7 separate regions of the Homo sapiens genome follow, and all the other regions are linked to region 1. Evidence: promoter capture Hi-C in human tissues and cell types (Jung and others, 2019). All regions are on one chromosome and are shown on one strand. The core of a region is centred on a gene start or on the middle of the fragment in contact, and the rest is flanking DNA. Distances in the headings are between cores, read along the strand shown. Region 1 holds the start of TSHZ2 (teashirt zinc finger homeobox 2). Region 2 overlaps TSHZ2 (teashirt zinc finger homeobox 2). Region 3 overlaps LOC105372666 (a long non-coding RNA gene). Region 4 overlaps LOC105372666 (a long non-coding RNA gene). Region 5 overlaps LINC01524 (long intergenic non-protein coding RNA 1524). Region 6 overlaps LINC01524 (long intergenic non-protein coding RNA 1524). Region 7 overlaps TSHZ2 (teashirt zinc finger homeobox 2).

Evidence for each region. Contacts are between HindIII fragments. The study calls those that stand out against the background at their distance.
Region 2: a contact is called between a fragment that was not itself captured here and the fragment with the promoter of TSHZ2 in region 1, in 2 of the 25 tissues and cell types used here (dorsolateral prefrontal cortex and spleen).
Region 3: a fragment that was not itself captured here is called in contact with the fragment with the promoter of TSHZ2 in region 1 in 4 of the 25 tissues and cell types used here (IMR-90 fibroblasts, dorsolateral prefrontal cortex, lymphoblastoid cells and 1 more).
Region 4: a contact is called between a fragment that was not itself captured here and the fragment with the promoter of TSHZ2 in region 1, in 1 of the 25 tissues and cell types used here (dorsolateral prefrontal cortex).
Region 5: a fragment that was not itself captured here is called in contact with the fragment with the promoter of TSHZ2 in region 1 in 3 of the 25 tissues and cell types used here (lymphoblastoid cells, mesenchymal stem cells and spleen).
Region 6: a fragment that was not itself captured here is called in contact with the fragment with the promoter of TSHZ2 in region 1 in 2 of the 25 tissues and cell types used here (mesenchymal stem cells and spleen).
Region 7: a fragment that was not itself captured here is called in contact with the fragment with the promoter of TSHZ2 in region 1 in 2 of the 25 tissues and cell types used here (dorsolateral prefrontal cortex and lymphoblastoid cells).

What each region holds. Positions count from the first base shown.
Region 1 is chr20:52,970,941-52,973,640 of GRCh38, reverse strand. TSHZ2 (teashirt zinc finger homeobox 2) reads right to left here and starts at 1,283. Exons shown (of 3, transcript NM_173485.6): 1 at 308-1,283. The coding sequence starts at 347. The HindIII fragment of the contact is 6,451 bases long and covers 1-2,700 here.
Region 2 is chr20:53,337,476-53,340,175 of GRCh38, reverse strand. The region is part of intron 2 of TSHZ2 (teashirt zinc finger homeobox 2); the gene reads right to left. Among named protein-coding and RNA genes, the nearest start is that of TSHZ2-AS1, 170 kb to the left of the region's middle. The HindIII fragment of the contact is 5,349 bases long and covers 1-2,700 here.
Region 3 is chr20:52,530,967-52,533,722 of GRCh38, reverse strand. All of the region lies in intron 5 of LOC105372666 (a long non-coding RNA gene), which reads right to left. Among named protein-coding and RNA genes, the nearest start is that of LINC01524, 88 kb to the left of the region's middle. The HindIII fragment of the contact is 9,491 bases long and covers 1-2,756 here.
Region 4 is chr20:52,505,994-52,508,827 of GRCh38, reverse strand. The region is part of intron 4 of LOC105372666 (a long non-coding RNA gene); the gene reads right to left. Among named protein-coding and RNA genes, the nearest start is that of LINC01524, 110 kb to the left of the region's middle. The HindIII fragment of the contact is 3,410 bases long and covers 1-2,834 here.
Region 5 is chr20:52,625,662-52,628,361 of GRCh38, reverse strand. The region is part of intron 2 of LINC01524 (long intergenic non-protein coding RNA 1524); the gene reads right to left. All of the region lies in intron 7 of LOC105372666 (a long non-coding RNA gene), which reads right to left. Among named protein-coding and RNA genes, the nearest start is that of LINC01524, 6.2 kb to the right of the region's middle. The HindIII fragment of the contact is 3,873 bases long and covers 1-2,700 here.
Region 6 is chr20:52,646,401-52,649,100 of GRCh38, reverse strand. LINC01524 (long intergenic non-protein coding RNA 1524) reads right to left here. Exons shown (of 3, transcript NR_110038.1): 3 at 1-2,611. All of the region lies in intron 7 of LOC105372666 (a long non-coding RNA gene), which reads right to left. Among named protein-coding and RNA genes, the nearest start is that of LINC01524, 27 kb to the right of the region's middle. The HindIII fragment of the contact is 3,037 bases long and covers 1-2,700 here.
Region 7 is chr20:53,234,260-53,236,959 of GRCh38, reverse strand. All of the region lies in intron 1 of TSHZ2 (teashirt zinc finger homeobox 2), which reads right to left. Among named protein-coding and RNA genes, the nearest start is that of TSHZ2, 260 kb to the right of the region's middle. The HindIII fragment of the contact is 5,488 bases long and covers 1-2,700 here.

The DNA of each region.
Region 1 (2,700 bases), core at 34-2,533:
ATCCGACTTTGGCCCGAGAGGCAAGAAACAGACTGGAAGAAAGTTAGGGGTGGGGTAGAGGGTGGAGGAAAGAAAGTTTAAGGAGGAAAGGCTTGGTGGGATAGCTCACCCCAACCCAACCGGAGCTTGGAAGGGGAGGATTTGGGAGACCAGAGAAGGCGAGAGAGGACGGGGTTATTAGAAGGGCACCCGGCGCAAACTCCCCCGAAAGCTTAAGTGGGTGGTGCCCCCGGGCACCCAGGGGCAAGGAGGGCGGGCGAGGAGCTCGGCGCACAGGGCAGCCCCGAAGCGGAGCCGTTTCTCTTACCTGCCGCCCGCTTGGGTGCCTGCTGTTTTCTCCTCGGCATCCTCTACTTCGCTCCAGTCCCACTTCTGGCGCCCCAGCCCCGAGCCGCGCGCTGGGGCCCGCTGTCTCTCTGGCCTCTCTGGGTCTCCTCCGCCTCTTGCCCGGTGGCTCCTAGGACGTCACTCGGCCTCTGTCCCCCTGACGATCCCCCCTGCAACTCCTCCACCACGGGCCAGAGACCCCCCTCTCTGGGTGGCAGACACGGGTGGCTTGTGCCGGCTGCTTTGAAGTAGAGGTTGGTTCTGCCTTGTTTGTTTGTTTGTTTATTTTGAATTTTTTTTCCTCTCTCTTTTTTGTTTTTGCTTTTGGAATTTTTTTGGTTTTGTTTTTGCGGTTTTTTTTTTTTTTGGTGACTGTTGAGACACTTGATTTCTTTATTAAACATCCAAGCCCGGGTTCGGATGGAAGGGACGAGGGGCGCACACGCGCCACAGGCACACTCGCGCGTAAAGATAAGGAAAAAAAAAAGGCAATCCTGGGAAGGTAGTGGGTTTCTTCTTTTTCTTCTTCTTCCTTCTCCTCTTTCCCTCCTCCTCCTCCTCCTCCACCTCCTCCTCCACCTCCTCCTTCTTTTCTTCCTCCTCCTCCTCCTCCTCCTCGCCGATCTCTATGGCGGATTCGTGCCGGGGGGAGAGCGATCACTCACTGTAGGTTTGTGGCTGCTGTCAGATCCCCGTCTGTGAGTGATATGCGAGAGGACAGGAGCGGGTTTTGGAAAGACAGAAAATCTGGAATTCACTCACTCACACACACACACAGACACACACACAGACACTCACACACGCACTCACACGCGCACGCACCCCCGCTTCCTCGCACACACACACTCACACCCCCCACATATGCACACACACACAAACACACACACACACCCTCGCACACACACACAAGACAGGGCGAGGCGATGCCAGCAAACATCGATCCCGCTGAACAAACTGAACATTAACAAACTCCTCCTCCTCCTCCTCTCCCCGCGACCTGATGACAGGGAGAAATTTACTCCCCAGCCGCAGAGCGCCAGGCAGCGGGAGCCTATTAAAGGGACAGCGTCCCGCAGGGGAGAGGGGCTGGGGGCGGGGGCCCCGGCGCGCCGGCCCAGGCCCCTCTGTGCGCCCTCTCCGCCGGGGCGAGGGCGTGCCCACCGGGCGCGGGGACACCCCTCCGGGAGGCGGAAGGGGCGGGGGCGGGAGGAAAGGAGGTGAGGAGGGAAGGGGTGCGGGAGAAAAGGAGGCAGTGTGATGATGGCTGAACTCTGAAGCTGGGAGGCTGTGGAGGGAGATTCAGGGGGGCCAGGTTGGCTGACCAGCAGGGACCATGCACAATCTTAGGAGAGGGAGAACTTAGGTTTGCTCGGGGCTGGGAAGGGGGAGGGGACCTTATCCAGTGAGGATCTCCATCCTGTAAGTCTTAACCTGCCCCCACCAAAATGTGCTCCCCACGACCCCTTCAATTTAGTGCCCCTGTCCCTCCCACTTTCTCGCTAATCAATGGGTGGTCACAAAAACAAAAATCTCCCTTCTGTCTACTTTAAGGTCTAATCATATACTCCTCTTTTTGTTTCCTTTGAAGAATGTTTATTGAGCATCTACTATGTGCCTATTCTGGAGACACAGAGGCCACAGAGAAAGGGAAGGTGGTGGCCATGTTGGTATTTATATTCTAATGGGGGAGTGCAGACAAGTGCCCCCCAGCTATCCAATCTTTGCTTAAATGTCCCCTTTTCCCAAAGGTCTACCTCACCTAAAATACACACACACACACACACACACACTCCCTGCCCCATTTCTCCATTTTGTTATTCCCCAGTGAGCTGATCAGTGAGTGTCACACAGGTTATAGACAGTTTTCTATTCTGTTGATTGTACAAGTTCCCCTCTTGAATGTAAGCTCCAATGGAAGGAAGGATTTTTGCCTCTTTGTTCTCTTATATCCCCAAGTGCTGGCAAAGCACAAGACATATAATAAGTGCCCAGTAAAATATTTGTTGAATGAATGAAAAGTAAGCAAGCAAATAAACAGGATACTTTGAGTGATTCGCTCCATGAAGACGTTAAGCTGAGTGCTGTAATAGTGTCTAAAAGGGGGTGGGTGGCTCTAGATTCAATGTAGGATATGGCATTTGAGCACAGAGAGATTGAAACAAACATGTGATTATTGAGTTCTGCTATCGGCCAGGCACCTTTTGAGGTGTTGGGGGCAAGTCTGTGAACAAGGTGAACCTAGACCATGCCCTCAAGGAGTGCTCCTTCCAGTGAGAGGGCAAAGCAACTGAGGGCATTTGATGCAGGCTGGGACTAGAGGTGTTTTTTTTTGCTTTATTATTTTTTTTATTTCAATAGCTTTAGGGGTAAAAG
Region 2 (2,700 bases), core at 197-2,696, 370 kb before region 1:
AAGAAAAGTCACCTTGTTTTATCCTAGCATTCCTGCATTGGCTGCTCTTCCCCCCACCAGGCATTGGCATTTATTGCTTCTGGAAAGAGATGATCACACCAAAAATCAAAGAAAAGGAATTTGAGTTGAACAGATGCAATTTTTGCAAAAGCAAGATTCTTGAGACAACTCAGACAAAGGAAAAGGCATGAGTAAAGCACAGGTGTTCCCTGCTGGGCCTGAGCAGACACACATTGGGATTTGGGGGGCAGATGAGAGCTGCAGGTGGGCTGGGAAGTGAGATGCTGCCTGGTGTTCCAGAGGAAGGGGAGATGATACAAATCCTAAAAGTTTTGCGTGGATTTAGGAGTAGCAATAACCTGCATCCCTTCCTCCAGCAGTGCCCAGGAGAGCAGCGAGTCCCCCAGCTTTCCTGGGCTCCAGTGCAGGAGGGGAGGATTGGCAGCACAGTGGCTGAGAGGAGCATCTCAGCAGATGGGCCTGAAGGTCATTCCAGGGCCAGCTTCATGGGCATTTGACCTGTGCAACTGCATAGCGTCCTGTGCTTGGCTTCATGCACTTTGCCATCTTGAAATTCCTATTAATATTTGAACAGGGGATCCTGAATGCTCATTTTTTACTGGGCCCTGAAAATCATGTAGCTGGCTGTGGCCACCTTACAGAGCTCCCACGTGCCCCAGTGTGAGAAGGACGGAGCTGTCTCCCAAGTTTGAGGGCAGAATACGCCATGATGAGGCCTTTCAGGGTTCAAAGTGGCTCAGGAACAGCCAGTAATGCCCTGGCCCTTGACCACCAGAAAATACTATGAGAGCTTGAGGCTGGGGACAACTCAGGCCTCCGCAGCCACCTTGGCCAATGAACCCTCTTTCCCTGGCCTGAATGTGCCCACCACTCCCTGCATAGGGCCTGGTATTAGCTGTATCTCTTGGAAGAGGAAGGAGTCCTGAGTTGACTAAGATGAAGTATCTGCCACTAAGATTAGGGACTGGAAATATAAATTAAGTTCAGGTGAAGAAAATAAGAGAATGTTAGATTTCTTCTGCACCCAAGCTTGTGGACTGAGGTATTTAACTGTTACAGGTGTGACATGGCTAGTTTGGTGACAATGCTGAGCTTAATTCTTTGTCATTTGTTGTTATTTGCCAATGATTCAGAGAGAGAAAATTTGGAACCCACTTTCTTAAATGTATGCATTGGCCAACACGTCTGTGCTTTGCTAAGAAGGCTTCATCAGTGCTTCCCATCACTGCAATGCATGCCTGGCTCCTGCCTGAGGTTTACAGAACGCTGACGCAGTGCTGGCCTCATCTGACCCTCATGAAAACCTGTGAGGAAAGGCTCACAGGGACTCTGGAGCAGGACTTCTCGCCCTCAGTACTCCTGACATTTGGAGCTGAGTACTCCTGACATTTGGAGCTGAGTACTCCTGACATTTGGAGCTGAGTACTCCTGACATTTAGAGCTGAGTACTCTTAACATTTGGAGCTGGGTGCTCCTTTCTTGTAGGGGGTGGGCTGTCCCAGGCACTGTAGGACATTCCACAGCTTCCCTGGTGTCTATCTGCCAGATGCCAGTACCACCCCAGCCCTCCAAGTCATGATCAACCATGTCTCTAGGCATTGTCAACTGTCCCCTAGAAGGCAAAGTCACCTTGTCGATTTCAAGTTAGTGTGGGCAGTTACTACTTGTTTGACCTGGGACAAGTTATTTAATCATAAAGTGCCTGAATTACTCCTTTTGGAAGAGAGAATACTAATTGTGTTACTTTTTCTAGTAGGGAGGACCCAGGCAGTCATCATAGGAGACCCTCCTTGGAGAGGCGAATGGGCTTCACCGATGTTTCCATTGTTCTCACCATCCCACGTTAGATAGAGAGCATGATGGTTTGGCAGGGTTAAATCCTCCTCCAACCCAGCCCATCACTCTTTTTATACTAAAACCCTTCAATTTTATGTGGAAAGAATTATGAAGACATTCTCTCTGCTCAGATAAATTATGAGGTGGAATAGTAACAATAACCTCATGGCTGGTGAATGCCTGCGACAGGCCAGCACCTTGCAAAGAGTTTGCAGGACCACGTTTGACTTCATGGACACACTATGGTGTGTCCCTGCTCTGCAGGTGAGGAGATGGAGGGTCAGAGAGGTTTTCTAACTTCCTCATGAACACGTCTCATGCTGCCTGGCCAGGGACATGGACAACATAGCTTTGAGCCTGTGCTTTAGCCAGGGGAAGCACTGAAGAACCATATTCCAATCAGTGATTCATGACTAAGCAACTCACATGACAGTTTCCCAATGTCTGCTCTAGCGTACAATTAGTACCAAGGCACTTTCTAAATATTTTTCTTTAACAGGGTTTCCATTTTAGCTTAAACACTTTAAAAGGCATTTTATAGCCCTACTCTACATCAAAAAGCAGTTTCAGCTGCCACGCATGGAAGGGAAATGAGTTTTTCACGTTGGGAGTCAATGTTATTTAATTATCTTTGGTAATGATTAACAAGAATCGAATCTGAGCCACACGTGGTTGTTCAGCCTCTTGTACTCATTAGATGTTCAGTAACTAGGTCATGGAAGATCCTATGGATTGGCTCACTCAGCATCCACTCACAGCTGACATCCCTGGGTATATCCCTCCTAGAGTGGCTGAGGAACAACATACTCCAGCTCCAGCCTCTGTGGTAACCAGGGGTGGTCA
Region 3 (2,756 bases), core at 21-2,520, 440 kb after region 1:
TGCAGCTACAGAATGCAGAAAAGTCCTCTCTGGTGTCTCCTTAAGGAGAAAACTTTTCCCAGAAATCCCTGGGCAGATCTTTCCTTACTTCTCATTGGCCAGAGCTGGATCATATGACCTCTCCTGAGCCAATCACTGGAAAGGAAAACAAGATTCTGATACCTGTCTTAGTAAGTTCTATTTACTTGAGGTGGGAATGGGGTCAGCTTTCCTTGAAGCACAAGATTGCATGGAGGATGGGTGGGTAACCTCATACATTGGGGTTCTGTTAGAAGAGGAAGGGGGAAAATGGACATTGGATAGGCAAGCTATAGGATGTTCATTTCTTTAAATGTGCATTAGAAACAAACCTTTTAAAAAAACTTAGCCTTAAGCAACAAGAGCTATGAAAACATGGGTTCGTGTGCTAATTTTAGTTTGTTTTCTAATACACATTTAAAGAAATGAACATGCATGTTTTCATAGCTCTTGTTGCTTTGGTTAAGGCTAAGTTTTAAGTCTACTGAAATACACCATTAAATATGAGTTACTATACTCTTAAATCACACAATAACTAAACTTTGAGCAGTTAGGCATGTTGACCATTGTTTATGTTATACTCTTTGCTCAGAAATTCCAATTTATTCTTCAAAGCCCAAATCAAATGTCCCTTCTCTGATCTCTCATTCTTTTTATGCCCAAAAAGGATTGGTTTCTTCCACAGCACTTTCTTTTTTATATACCTCTTCTAACAAGGGCCAGGTTGTGATATTTACATATCCACTCCTGATGGGGAACACCCTGTTTGTCATTCAGCCATTTATGAAACACTTGGTTGAGCAGCATTTATACGGCTTACGGAGAATACATCTACGTCATTTCTAGCCCTGACAACTAAGGCGTGATGCATAGGAGGTACTCGTGGTATGTTTGCCAGTAACTATCCATGCAAACTTAGCAAAGGGGAAAAACACATTTTGAACAACTGGCACTTTAGCAATTTCTTATTTAATTCAAAACAAAACCAGTCAATCTCATAAAATCTCTGAGGATTGCAGACAAAAATGTCCCTGGAATAGGACTGGATTAACACACAGATAATTGGAGGTAAGCCCTTTTGCCTCCAACCACCAGCTCATTACTAATTTACCCCACTTTAAGAGTATGAGTCAACTTCCTTCTTTTAAGAGAATCCAAGGAAAGCTAAAGACGTACTCCTCTCACTGTGTAAACATAATTTTATTTCTAATTAATTTCAATAAAATTTTAAAAATTAAAATTTGATGACTTTCCTATCTTATTTGGAACACTTCAATGACACCTCATTTCTTTCAGGATAAGGGCAGAAACGGGCCTTCACAGATCTAGTAATTTGACTCGAAACTTTTTTCTTTTTTTTTTTTTATTACACTTTAAGTTCTAGGGTACATGTGCACAACGTGCAGATTTGTTACATAGGTATGCATGTGCCATGTTGGTTTGCTGTACCCATCAACTTGTCATTTACATTAGGTATTTCTCCTAATGCTATCCCTCCCCCAACCCCCTACCCCCTGACAGGCCCCGGTGTGTGATGTTCCCCGCCCTTTGTCCGTTGTTCAACTCCCACCTACTAGTGAGAACATGTGGTGTTTGGTTTTCTGTCCTTGTGATAGTTTGCTTAGAATGATGGTTTCCAGCTTCATCCATGTCCCTGCAAAGGACATGAACTCATCTTTTTTATGGCTACATAGTATTCCATGGTGTATATGTGCCACATTTTCTTAGTCCAGTCTGTCATTGATGGACATTTGGGTTGGTTTCAAGCCTTTGCTATTGTGAATACTGCCGTAATAAACATACATGTGCATGTGTCTTTATAGTAGCATGATTTATAATCCTTTGGGTATATACCCAGTAATGGGATCTGTGACCTGAAACTTTCTTTGCATCTTGCTTCTCACTGTCCTCCCCACTCTCTCTTCTGCAGCCACACTGGTTGCTTGCTGTATTTCAAACATGAAGCTGCTCCTTCCCCAGGACCTTTGCACATGCTTTCCCTCTGCTCCAGATACTCTCCTATTAATCTCTAAGGTCTCAGGTTAAGTGTGACTTTCCCTGGGAAGGCTTCCTAGTCTCCCCAAGCTAGATGAGGCTCCCATATCACATATTCTTATGGCTCTATACTTTTTTCTTCAAGAGAGTAACCAAGTTTTAATGAAATTGATCCTTTGTGTAAGCATGTGTTTGATTTCTGCTTTCCTCATAAGAAAGTAAGTTCTGTGAGGTTAGGGAACTATGCGTTGTTAACTGCTGAATCTGCAGTGCCTAGGACAGGGCCTGGCACATAGTAGGTCTTCAATAAAGATTGGTTGAATAAACCAATAAATGAGCCTGTCCAAGAGCAGTAAGGTCACTGCCTGGACCCATCAGTATTCCCCCAGGACAACACAGAATTCCAAAGCCATTTTCTTTTGACAACAACAACTCATTTCTGCATTCACTCAACAAGTATTTATTGAGCACCTGCTGTGTGCCAGGATCTTAGTCAGTGGGGGTAGAACCATAAACTAAATGACCAAGTTTCTGGTCCCCTGGAGCTTACATCGTAGTGGGGAGACAGAAATGAACCTATAAGTAAATAAATGCCAAACAAAATATCCGGTAACAACACACACTATGGAGGAAGCACCAGGATTTTATTTGAAAATTATTTTTTGTGTGTGTCATGGTAGTATCCTTTTCCAAAAATTGACTTTCTTTGTTATGAAAATAACAGCCACCATAAATTTACCAAG
Region 4 (2,834 bases), core at 256-2,755, 470 kb after region 1:
TCAGATGGGTAGTTTGCAAATATTTTCTTCCATTCTGTGGGTTGCCTTTTCACTTTGTTGATGATTTCCTTTGCTGTGCAGAAGCTTTTTAACTTGATGTTATCCCATTTGTCTATTTTTGCTTTGGTTGTCTGTGCTTGTGGGGTATTACTCAAGAAATCTTTGCCCAGTCCAACATCCTGGAGAGTTTCCTCAATGTTTTCTTTAAGTAGTTTCATAGTTTGAGGTTTTAGATTTAAGTCTTTAATTCATTTTATTTGGTTTTTGTATATGGCAAGAGATAGGGGTATAGTTTCATTCTGCTGCATATGGATATCCAGTTTTCACAGCACCACTTATTGAAGAGACTGTCCTCACCCCAGTGTATATTCTTGGCACCTCTGTCAAAAATGAGTTCACTGAAGACGCATGGATTTATTTCTGGGTTTTCTATTCTGTTCTATTGGTCTATGTGTCTTTATGTCAGTACCATGCTGCTTTTGTTACTATAGCTCCATAGGATAACTGGAAGTCAGGTAATGTGATTACTTCAGTTTTGTTCTTTTTTTCTCAGGATATATTTGACTATTATGGGTCTTTTGTAGTTCTCAATAAATTTTAGGATTTTTTTTTCTATTTCTGTGAAGAAAGTCATTGGTATTTTGATAGAGATTGCATTTAATCTGTAGATTGCTTTGGGTAGTGTGGACATTTTAACAATATTGATTCTGCCAATCTATGAAAACATGAAGTATATTTCCATTTTTTTGTTATCCTCTTTCTTTCATCAATGTTTTATACTTTTTATTATTGAGATCTTTCACTTTTTTTGTTTTCTTCCTATGTATTTTATTTTATTTGTGGCTATTGTAAATGAGATTGCTTTCTCAATTTCTTTTTCACATTGCTTGCTGTTGGCATATAGAAATACTACTGATTTTGTATGTTGATTTTGTATCCTGCAACTTTACTGATTTGTTTATCCACTCTAATAGTTTTTTGGTGGCGTCTTTAGGTTTTTCCAAATATAAGATTATATCATCTGCAAGCAAGGATTATTTAACTTCTTATTTTCAAATTTGATGCCTTTTATTTCTTTCTCTTATCTGATTGCCCTAGCTAGGACTTCCAGTACTTTGCTGAATAATTATAATAAAATTGGGCATCCTTGTTGTGTTCCAGATCTTAGATGAAAAGCTTTCAGTTTTTCCCCATTCAGTATGATATTATTATGTTGAGGTACGTTCCTCGTATACCCAGTTTTTTGAGGGTTTTTATCATAAAGAGATGTTGGATTTTATCAAATGCTTTTTTAGCATCGATTGAAATGATCATGTGGTGTTTGCCCTTCATCCTGTTGATAGAGTGAATCAAATTAATTGAATTGTATATATTGAGCCATCCTTGCATCCCTGGATTAATCCCACTTGGTCATAACAAATGATTTTTTTTTTTTTGATGTGGTGTTGAATTCTGTTTGCTAGTATTTTATTGTGGGTTTTTGCATCAATCCTCATCAGGGATACTGGACTGTAGTTTTCTTTTTCTGATGTCTTTTGTTTTTGGCAGGAAGATAATACTGGCCTTGTAGAATGAGTTTGGAAGTATTCTCTCCTCCTCTATTTTTTGAAATCTTTGAGTAGAATTGGTATTAGTTCTTTAAAAGTTTAGTAAAATTCAACAGTGAAGCCATCAGGTCCTGGGCTTATCTTTGCTAAGAGACTTCTTATCATGCCTTCGATCTCATTACTTGTTATTGCTCTGTTCAGATTTTGAATTTCTTTACGTTTTAATCTTCATAGGTTGTATGTGTCTAAGAATCTATCCATTTCTTCTAGGTTTTCCAATTTATTGGCATATAGTTGCTCATAGGAGCCTCTAATAATACTTCGAATTTCTGTGTTATCAGTTGTAATTTCTCCTTTTTCACCTCTGATTTTATTTATTTCAGTCTCCTCTCTTTTTTCTTAGGCAAACAGTGTGTCAATTTTGTTTATCTTTTCAAAAAAAATCAACCACTGCTTTCACTGATCTTTTGTATTTTTTGGTTTCTTTAATTTCTGCTCCAATGTTTATTATTTATTTTCTTCTATTAATTTTAAGTTTGGTTAGCTCTAGCTTCTGTATTTCTTTGAGATGTATCATTAAGTTGTTTATTTGAAGTTTTCCTGCTTTTTAGATGTAGGCACTTATTGTTATAAACTTTCCCCTTAGTGCTGCTTTTGCTGTATCCTATAAATTTTGATGTGTTGTGTTTCTATTTTCATTTATTTCAAGAAATTTTTAAATTTCCTTCTTAATTTTTTCATTGTCCCACTGGTCATTCGGGAGCATATTATTTAATTTCCATGTTTTTGTATAGTTTCCAAAGTTCCTCTTGTTGTTGATTTCTAGTTTTATTCCATTGTGGTCAAACAAGACACTTGATAGGATTTCAATTTTTGAATGTTTTAAGACTTGTTTTGGGGCTTAATGTATAGTCGATCCTTGAGAATGATCCATGTGCTGAGGAGAAGAATTGTGTTCTGCAGGTGTTAAGGGAAATGTACTGTGAATATCTATTAAGTCCATTTGGTCTCTAGTGCAGATTAAGTCCAATGTTTCTTTGTTGATTTTCTGTCTGGATGATCTGTTCAATGCTGAAAGTGGGGTGTAAGTCTCTAGATATTATTGTGTTGGAGTCTAGCTCTCGCTTTAGCTCTAATAATAATATAATATTTGCTTCATGTATATCTGGGAGCTTTACTGTTGGGTGCATATATATTTATAATTGTTGTATCCTCCTGCTGAATTTACTCTTTTATGTAATGACCTTTTTTGTCTCTTTTTATAGGTTTTTCTCTTGAACTCTATCT
Region 5 (2,700 bases), core at 78-2,577, 350 kb after region 1:
ACTTGCCTCACTCCCTCTGCGTCGGTTACATATGGTATTGCAGAAATTCTGAGAGAAGGTGGGAATTCTACAACTCAGAGGAATTGGGGATGGGGGAGGCAATGGCATTCTTTTTTTTTTAAATTATACTTTAAGTTCTGGGATACATGTGCAGAACACGCAGGTTGTTACATAGGTATACATGTGCCATGGTGGTTTGCTGCACCCATCAACTCATCATCTACATTACGTATTTCTCCTAATGCTATACTCCCCAAGCCCCCCACCGCCCCCGCAACAGGCCCTGGTGTGTGATGTTCCCCTCCTGTGTCCATGTGTTCTCATTGTTCAGCTCCCACTTATGAGTGAGAATGTGCAGTGTTTGGTTTTCTGTTCATGTGTTAGTTTGCTGAGAATGATGGTTTCTGGCTTCATCCATGTCCTTGCAAAGGACATGAACTCATCCTTTTTTATGGCTGCATAGTATTCCATGGTGTATATGTGCCACATTTTCTTTATCCAGTCTATCATTGATGGACATTTGGTTTGGTTCCAAGTCTTTGCTGTTGTGAATAGTGCTGCAATAAACATATATATGCATGTGTCTTTATAGTAGAATGCAAATCAATAAATGTAATCCAAACAGAACCAATGACAGAAACCACATGATCATCTCAATAGATGCAGAAAAGGCCTTCAATAAAATTCAACACCCCTTCATGCTAAAAATGCTCAATAAACTAGGTATTGATAGAACATATCTCAAAATAATGAGAGTTATTTATGACAAACCCATAGCCAATATCATACTGAATGGGCAAAAGCTGGAAGCATTCCCTGTGAAAACCAGTACAAGACAAGGATGCCCTCTCTCACCACTCCAATTCAACATAGTATTGGAAGTTCTGGCCAGAGCAATCAGGCAAGAGAAAGAAATAAAGGGTATTCAAATACGAAGAGAGGAAGTCAAATTGTCTCTGCAGATGACAATGGTGTTCTTACTGCCTCTAGCCTACAGCCTATTGAGGTTTCTTGCAATTTACACATGCCTAGTAATGTGGATTCATAGACAGCATTATCACCTCTTAACTATAGCAGCCCTCACAAAAAGGACTAGTGGCTTAAAGATTCCTACAAAGTAATGTGAATTGAAGGAAATTTTAACAATGCAAGCATCTGCATGCAAGGAGAAAATGGCTCTAACTTCTTCCACCATTAACAGGAGCTTTTTATCAGTTATATTGTGATGTAAAAAAAAAATGATGATGAGCAACTCGGAGTTGTCAAAACAAACAAACAAAAAAGGAAGTTATCCAGCAGATTATGTAACATATAGATTTACATTTAAAACCATGATCTGATATTTTCTGTACTAGAATATAGGCTCCAGAACAGCAGGGATCTTGTGTTTTTTCATGCTTTTTACTCATATTCTTAGCTTGGCACATAGCAGGCATTCCATAAATATCTATTAATAAATAACTTAATCGGTAATGATGAGGTTTACATTTTTCAGAGATAGCCTCAGTCATCTCTCCCATTCCATAGGCTGGCTTACAATGTGATCTTGCTATTCCCTCATCAAGAAGTATAGTCTAGGCCTGGTGCGGTGGCTCATGCCTGTAATCCCAGCACTTTGGGAGGCTGAGGTGGGCAGATCATGAGGTCCGGAGATCGAGACCATCCTGGCCAACATGGTGAAACTCCGTCTGTATTAAAAATACAAAAATTAGCTGGGCGTGGTGGCAGGTGCCTGTAGTCCCAGGTACTTGAGAGGCTGAGGCAGGAGAATTTCTTGAACCTGGGAGTCAGAGGTTGCAGTGAGCCGAGATCGCACCACTGCACTCCAGCCTGGCGACAGAGTGAGACTCCGTCTTAAAAAAAAAAAAAAAAAAAAGTATAGTCTAATTCCCAGCCCTTGAGCCAAGGCAGGCTTATGACAGCTTTGATGGATACATTATGACAGAGGGAATGCTACGTGACTTCCAAGGCTGTCAGGAAAAGCCATACAGCTTCCCTCTCTGGTTTCTCCTGAGATGCTTATTCTGGAGGGAGCAAGAGCTGCTATTCAAGAAGTCCAGCTACACTGAGACCATCGTGGTGAAAGGGTCACATGAATGCTCTGACCAACAGCCCCAGTTAAGGTCCCAAAGCTGCCAGCCATGGCAATGGCACAACTTGGACATCCTTCAAATGACTACAGCCTCAGCTTCACCCAATATCAGACTGTACTACACGAGGACCTCCAGGTGAGAACCAGTCAGCTGAGCCCTTTCCTAATTCCTGACCCAGAAATCATGAGCAAAACAAACTTGTGAGTTTAAATCACTAAATTTGGGGATCATTTGTTACATGTTACTAGATAATTAAACAATAAACCTCCTCCCAAATACATGTTATGGCTCAATATTTTTTATTTTTTATTTATTTTATTTTATTATTATTATTATTTTGAGACAGAGTCTCACTCTGTTGTCAGGCTGGAGTGCAGTGGCGCGATCTCAGGTCACTGTAACCTCCACCTCCCAGGTTCAAGTGATTCTCCTGCCTCAGCATCCGAGTAGCTGGGATTACAGGCGCATGCCACCATGCCCAGATAATTTTTGTATTTTTAGTACAGACGGGGTTTCACCACGTTGCTAGGATGGTCTTGATCTCTTGACCTCGTGATCCACCCACCTCAGCCTCCCAAAGTGCTGGGATTACAGGTGTGAGCCATCA
Region 6 (2,700 bases), core at 26-2,525, 320 kb after region 1:
CACATGAAAAAGCTTTGTTACAAAGAATGCTTAAACATCTGGAATTTTACTTCCACGACCAACTGAAAAAGCGAATTATTCAGGCTTCCAACACTAAAATGATGCTTCTCTGATCACATAGATTAGCTACAAAGCCAAATTTGGAGAAGACTGAATTTTTAAAGAGTATCTTGGAAGAAGAAAGAAAGGAGACAAACAAGGACGCTTTAATGCCAAAATTAGGGCTACTGTCCTCACACAGAACACCCCAAAATCTCAAGGATCAGTTTGCAGACTTGACCAGCTCCAAGAAGCCACATGGATAAAATAGGGTTGGGAGGATTTGGAAAATAAAGCTTGGAATCCACCAGCTTGTGACAGAAGGAAGAAGGATGTATTTACTTGGATAAAGAGAGTTCAAAACAAAACTCCGAAAAAATTACAAATAAAATCGCCCAAGGAAAATGAAAAATAATAAGACAAACAATCCCGTGTGAACACACTGCCTATTCTCCTTTAACGGTCTTTTTGCTAATTCCTCAGTTCACCATGTTGCAAGACAACATTTTAAAAATGACCATGGAAACAGCCTGTTCGAAGGGCTGGCAGCAGAGCACAGTGGGCAAGGATGCCCTGTTTACAACGCAGGTGCACACACACACACACACACACACACACAAACTTAAGTTGATTTTTCAATAACTTGATTTCTACTTCCATTTTCTCTGCCCTGGGAGATATTTGGCTGTTGATTTAGAGATGCGATCAGCTCTGAAATACTACTTTTCTCCTTATTTTTATGAGAAGGAAGATTAAACAACAAGAAAAGAAATTTCCATCTGCCTTCTATAACACTTCCCTAGGAAAAACTGATTGCCTTATAATAGGCAGCAGTGGTTCTCAATTGGTGCTATTTGTGCCCCAGTGGGCATTTGGCAATGTCTGGAGACATTTTTGGTTGTCAGAACAGGAGGTGGGGAGGCAGGTACTATTGGCTTCTAGTGGTAGAGGGTATGCTGCCAAGCATCCTACAATGCACAGGACAGCCCCTATGACAAAGAATTATTCAGCACAGAATGGCAATAATAATAAAGGTTGAGAAAGCCTGACCCATAGCCTAGTGGATAAGAACAGGGCTCTGGAAGTAGATAGCCTGTATTCAAATCCTGGCTTCACTACAGACTAGCTGAACACTTTAATGTTTCCATACCTCCACTTCCTTATCTCTAAAAGAGACAGCAAATGCACCCACTTTAGAGGGTTCTTGTGGGCATCAAATAAGTTAGTCAAGGTAAATGCTTAGAGTACAGCCTGACAAATAATATGCATATCACAAACGATGCACATATTCTTAAATATATCTTCGTAGACTACTAACTTCACAGGCTCAAAATTGCTTACCTGTTTAGCTTCCTCAACTCCCTCACTGAAGTGTGAGCATCCTAAGGACAACACTGGATCTTAATTGTTTGCTTCACCTCAGCACCAAGCACAGAGGTTAAGGAGACTTAGAAGAAATGAGATGCCAAAGATCCAATCCACTGTTGGTAGCCATTGTCATTGGCCATCGCCCACATCCACTCAGCCCTGGGCACTCTGGGCCCCATGGCTTCATGTTCTCTATGACCGAAGGCTTTCTCTGACCTGAAGTGCCAGGGAATCAATACCGCCAGTAAGCAGCCCTCAATCAGTAACAGATGGAATTGGTGGATTAATATCCCAGTTCCCCCGGCCCTCACGAGCATCACTGTGAGGTACATGTTCCCCACTGTCTCAGGCTTCCCTAGCAGGTGTAAGCTCCAATTGCCCAGAACAGTGCCTTGCTTGATAACATGCCCTTTCCTGATTGCCTTCCCATCCTTGTCTCATTTTCCCCCTCTTCCGCCACTGTTTTGTGGATTTACCTCCCATGTAAGCGACTGTACTCTGACCCTGGTCTTCGAGGTGGCACCTGGAGGAACTACAACTAACACAGCACTCTAGGAGTAGGATGGGCCAATTTCTCCAGGAAGATGATCTCCCTGACTAAATATTCCTGCACATTTGTGGGAGATAAGAAATCACAGTACTTGGACTCAGGCTCCACTCCTGTCCATTTCTCATCTCTTGGGAAGCAAGTCCCTTTCCACAAGATGGCAGGTGCTGAAATGGGAAGTAGAAGGGAAAAAAAATCCATTTTCAGAGTGATGAACTAAATAATTTGCCTCCAGGTCTGAGATGGGTATTAAATGAAACTTGAAGTAATCTTCCCAGCAGAGCTTGGGGGCACCTGTGACTTTTAAATGGAGCTACTCTGTTTCTAGGGAAATACATACTTCTAAAAATTACGCTTGAGGATAAAAGCTTCCAACAATAAATCTCCCGGAGGCGCACTCCTCTAGGGACAAATATACTGGGAAATCTTCAAAGAGGGTGCTCGGTTTATCACTTCGTGTCTCTTTCCCACTGCAGAAGGAAATCCCTCTGTTTCCACTGAGAAATCAAGTCCACTGGGACCTCTTCGAAGGATCGAGAGTTCTTCAGCTCCTCCCATCCCCACCCCTTAAAGACCACAGATCATTTCATTCTGAAAATAATCCTTTGGGGGTTGAAAGCAGACAGCATATTAACAATCGATGCTGTTCCTCTTGACCTGAAGAAAAAAAAGAAAATCAAGCATACAAATAACAAAAAGTACTCATTCCTGCTGTGAAATAAAAATATAATCTCACATCTGTTCCT
Region 7 (2,700 bases), core at 186-2,685, 260 kb before region 1:
CCCTACGTGTTAGGGGTGGGACCTTGTGGGAGGAATTGATTAGATTATGGGGGCAGTTCCCCTGTGCTGTTCTTATAATAGTGAGTGAATTCTCATGAGATCTGATGGTTTTATAAGGGGCTTTTCCCCACTTCATACTGTACTTCTCTCTCCTGCTGCCATGTGAAGAAGGACATGTTTGCTTCTCCTTTGCCTTCCGTCATGATTGTAAGTTTCCTGAGGCTTCTCAAGTAATGCAGAACTGTGAGTCAATTAAACCTCTTTCCTTTATAAATAACCCAGTCTCAGGCAGTTCTTTAGAGCAGCGTGAGAATGAACTAATACAGTCACATGCCCAGAAACTGATTGAATCTAGCTTTGAAGTGAGTTCATTAGACCCCAGACCCAGTGCCCTCTCACAGCTGTGTACTAGCTTACTTGTGGCATGTCAGTTTTCCATGATGCCCTGCCATTACCAATGTGTATAGTGGAGGCACGTGTGTTTCTGCTATAATGCAATGTGTGTTCCTAGACAAATCTTGCATTTTGCACAGCTTTGCAGTTAAAATTATAGCACTTATGGGAAAAATAAGGTTAGGATAGACCACTTAGAAAGTAAGCAACTTAGCATCCAGAGAGTAAGCAAACAATAACAAACATAATAAACCTACTGGTTGGGTTAGATACACTTGTTCAATTCATAATAAGTAAAGGAATGCCAGAGCAAATAAAAGACTTAACCTTTGTAAATAAAGAAGTGATGGTAGTTAGATAGAAAGGAGTTTAAAGAGGTAGTGAGATTGTGAAGTTACAGGCAGGTCAAATTTTTAAAAATCAGGGAGAGGTGACAGTCAGGCTTCTGAGGCAGATTTACATGGTTAACCTGAGCTAAGAGGATTGACTTTTATGAATTGACTGCTTTCTTTGCTGGATTCAGCTGTGTTGGTGAACTTTGCATTTGGCTGCTGTTACTCAGTGGTGCTAAACAATAACGTGTTGGAAAAAATTACATGTGCATCAATGTGACGTTCTCATTATATTCATATCATTAACCTATTTACCAATCAGGAGTGAACTAATCTGCTTCACAGGAAGATGAGCTACAATGGAACAGACTTTATTTTATCTTTCATTCTTAAAGACCTTTCATGTTCAACTAACTCAATTGCTAAAATCCTGGGCACCTCACCAATAAAATCTTAACTTTGAATTAATTACTCAGGCAAACCAACTTAAAATAAAGATTGTAAATCTAAATAGCTTCCAGGCGACAGAATTTGCATCTCATAAAATCTCTCTCATTATTGGGGATATATAAAGAGAGAGCTTCCCTTTTATTTCTTCAAGTACCTACTGTGTGCCTGGTACAGTATGCAATATACATTTTATTTTGGAAATAATCCTGTGAGGTAGATATTTTTACATTTATGTGAGGGATTTCGGGCTAGCAGAAGAGATGAAAGTGGCTTTCTGGTACACACTGGCAGAAGCAGGATATGAACTCAAGTCCTGGCCAGGGGTGGTGGCTCGCACCTGTAATCCCAGCACTTTGGGAGGCTGAGGTGGGTGGATCACATGAGGTCAGGAGTTTGAGACCAGCATGGCCAACATGGTGAAACCCCGTCTCTACTAAAAATACAAAAAAATTGGCTGGGTATGGTGGTCCACGCCTGTAATCCCAGCTACTTGGGAGGCTGAGGTGGGAGGATCACTTGAACCCAAGAGGCAGAGGTTGCAGTGAGCCAAGATCATGACACTGTACTCCAGCCTGGGTGACAGAGTGAGACTTTGGCTCAAAAACAAACAAACAAACAAACACGCCCTCCCCCATTCCCCCCCCCCCGCCCCGCCCAACAAAACCAAGCTCAGAGACCCAAGACCCAAGCATCTTCCACCTCAACTTTCTGCAATGAGACATTAAGTGACGAGGTGCGCTCCTAGGGGACTGAAAGTGAACAATGGTCTCAACTGGGCACCTCTCATGCCACCTTGACTCCTCCATGAATTGATCCCATCCTTGTGGCTTACTGTCAATGCTTAACACTCCTAGCAGTCAGAATGAAAGATACATCAGATCCTGTCACTTCCCTGCTCAAAACCTCCCAAGGGACATTCTTCCCACTCAAAGAAAAAGTCAATGTTCTCACCATGGCCCTCAGATTTCTATGTATGTTAGCTCTCCACTTGGTCTCCAACGCTTTCTTCTATTTCCCTCTTCCTGGATTTTCTGCTCCAGCCATACTGACCTCTTTGCTATTTCCCATAAGCCAGGAACATTCCCATCTTAGGCCTTTGCGCTGGCTGCTGTCTCTGCACTTTTCCTAACTTCCTTCAAATCTTTGCCTAAATATCATTTCCTGATGGCACTTTACTCCAGTCACCCTATTTAACGTTGCAACCAGTCTCCCCATTCTTTCAGAACTCCCAATTCCCTTCTTCTGTTCTATTTTTCTTTTGCCTTCATACTTACCAACTTGTAGCTTACTACAGAATTTACTTCTTTATTATTTCTATTGTTAATTGTGATCTTTCTTTGTTAGTTTGTAAGCTTTGTAAGAACCGGTATCTTTGTCTCTTTGGCTTGATGCTGTATGGAGGCACCTGTGCATGGTGCTTGGTAAGTTCTCAAAAAAGTATTTGTTGAATGACTCAATGAAAATTTCATGAATCTTTGACATTTTCAACTCCCAAAGGAGAGCAAAACTTACCCACTCACCAGAA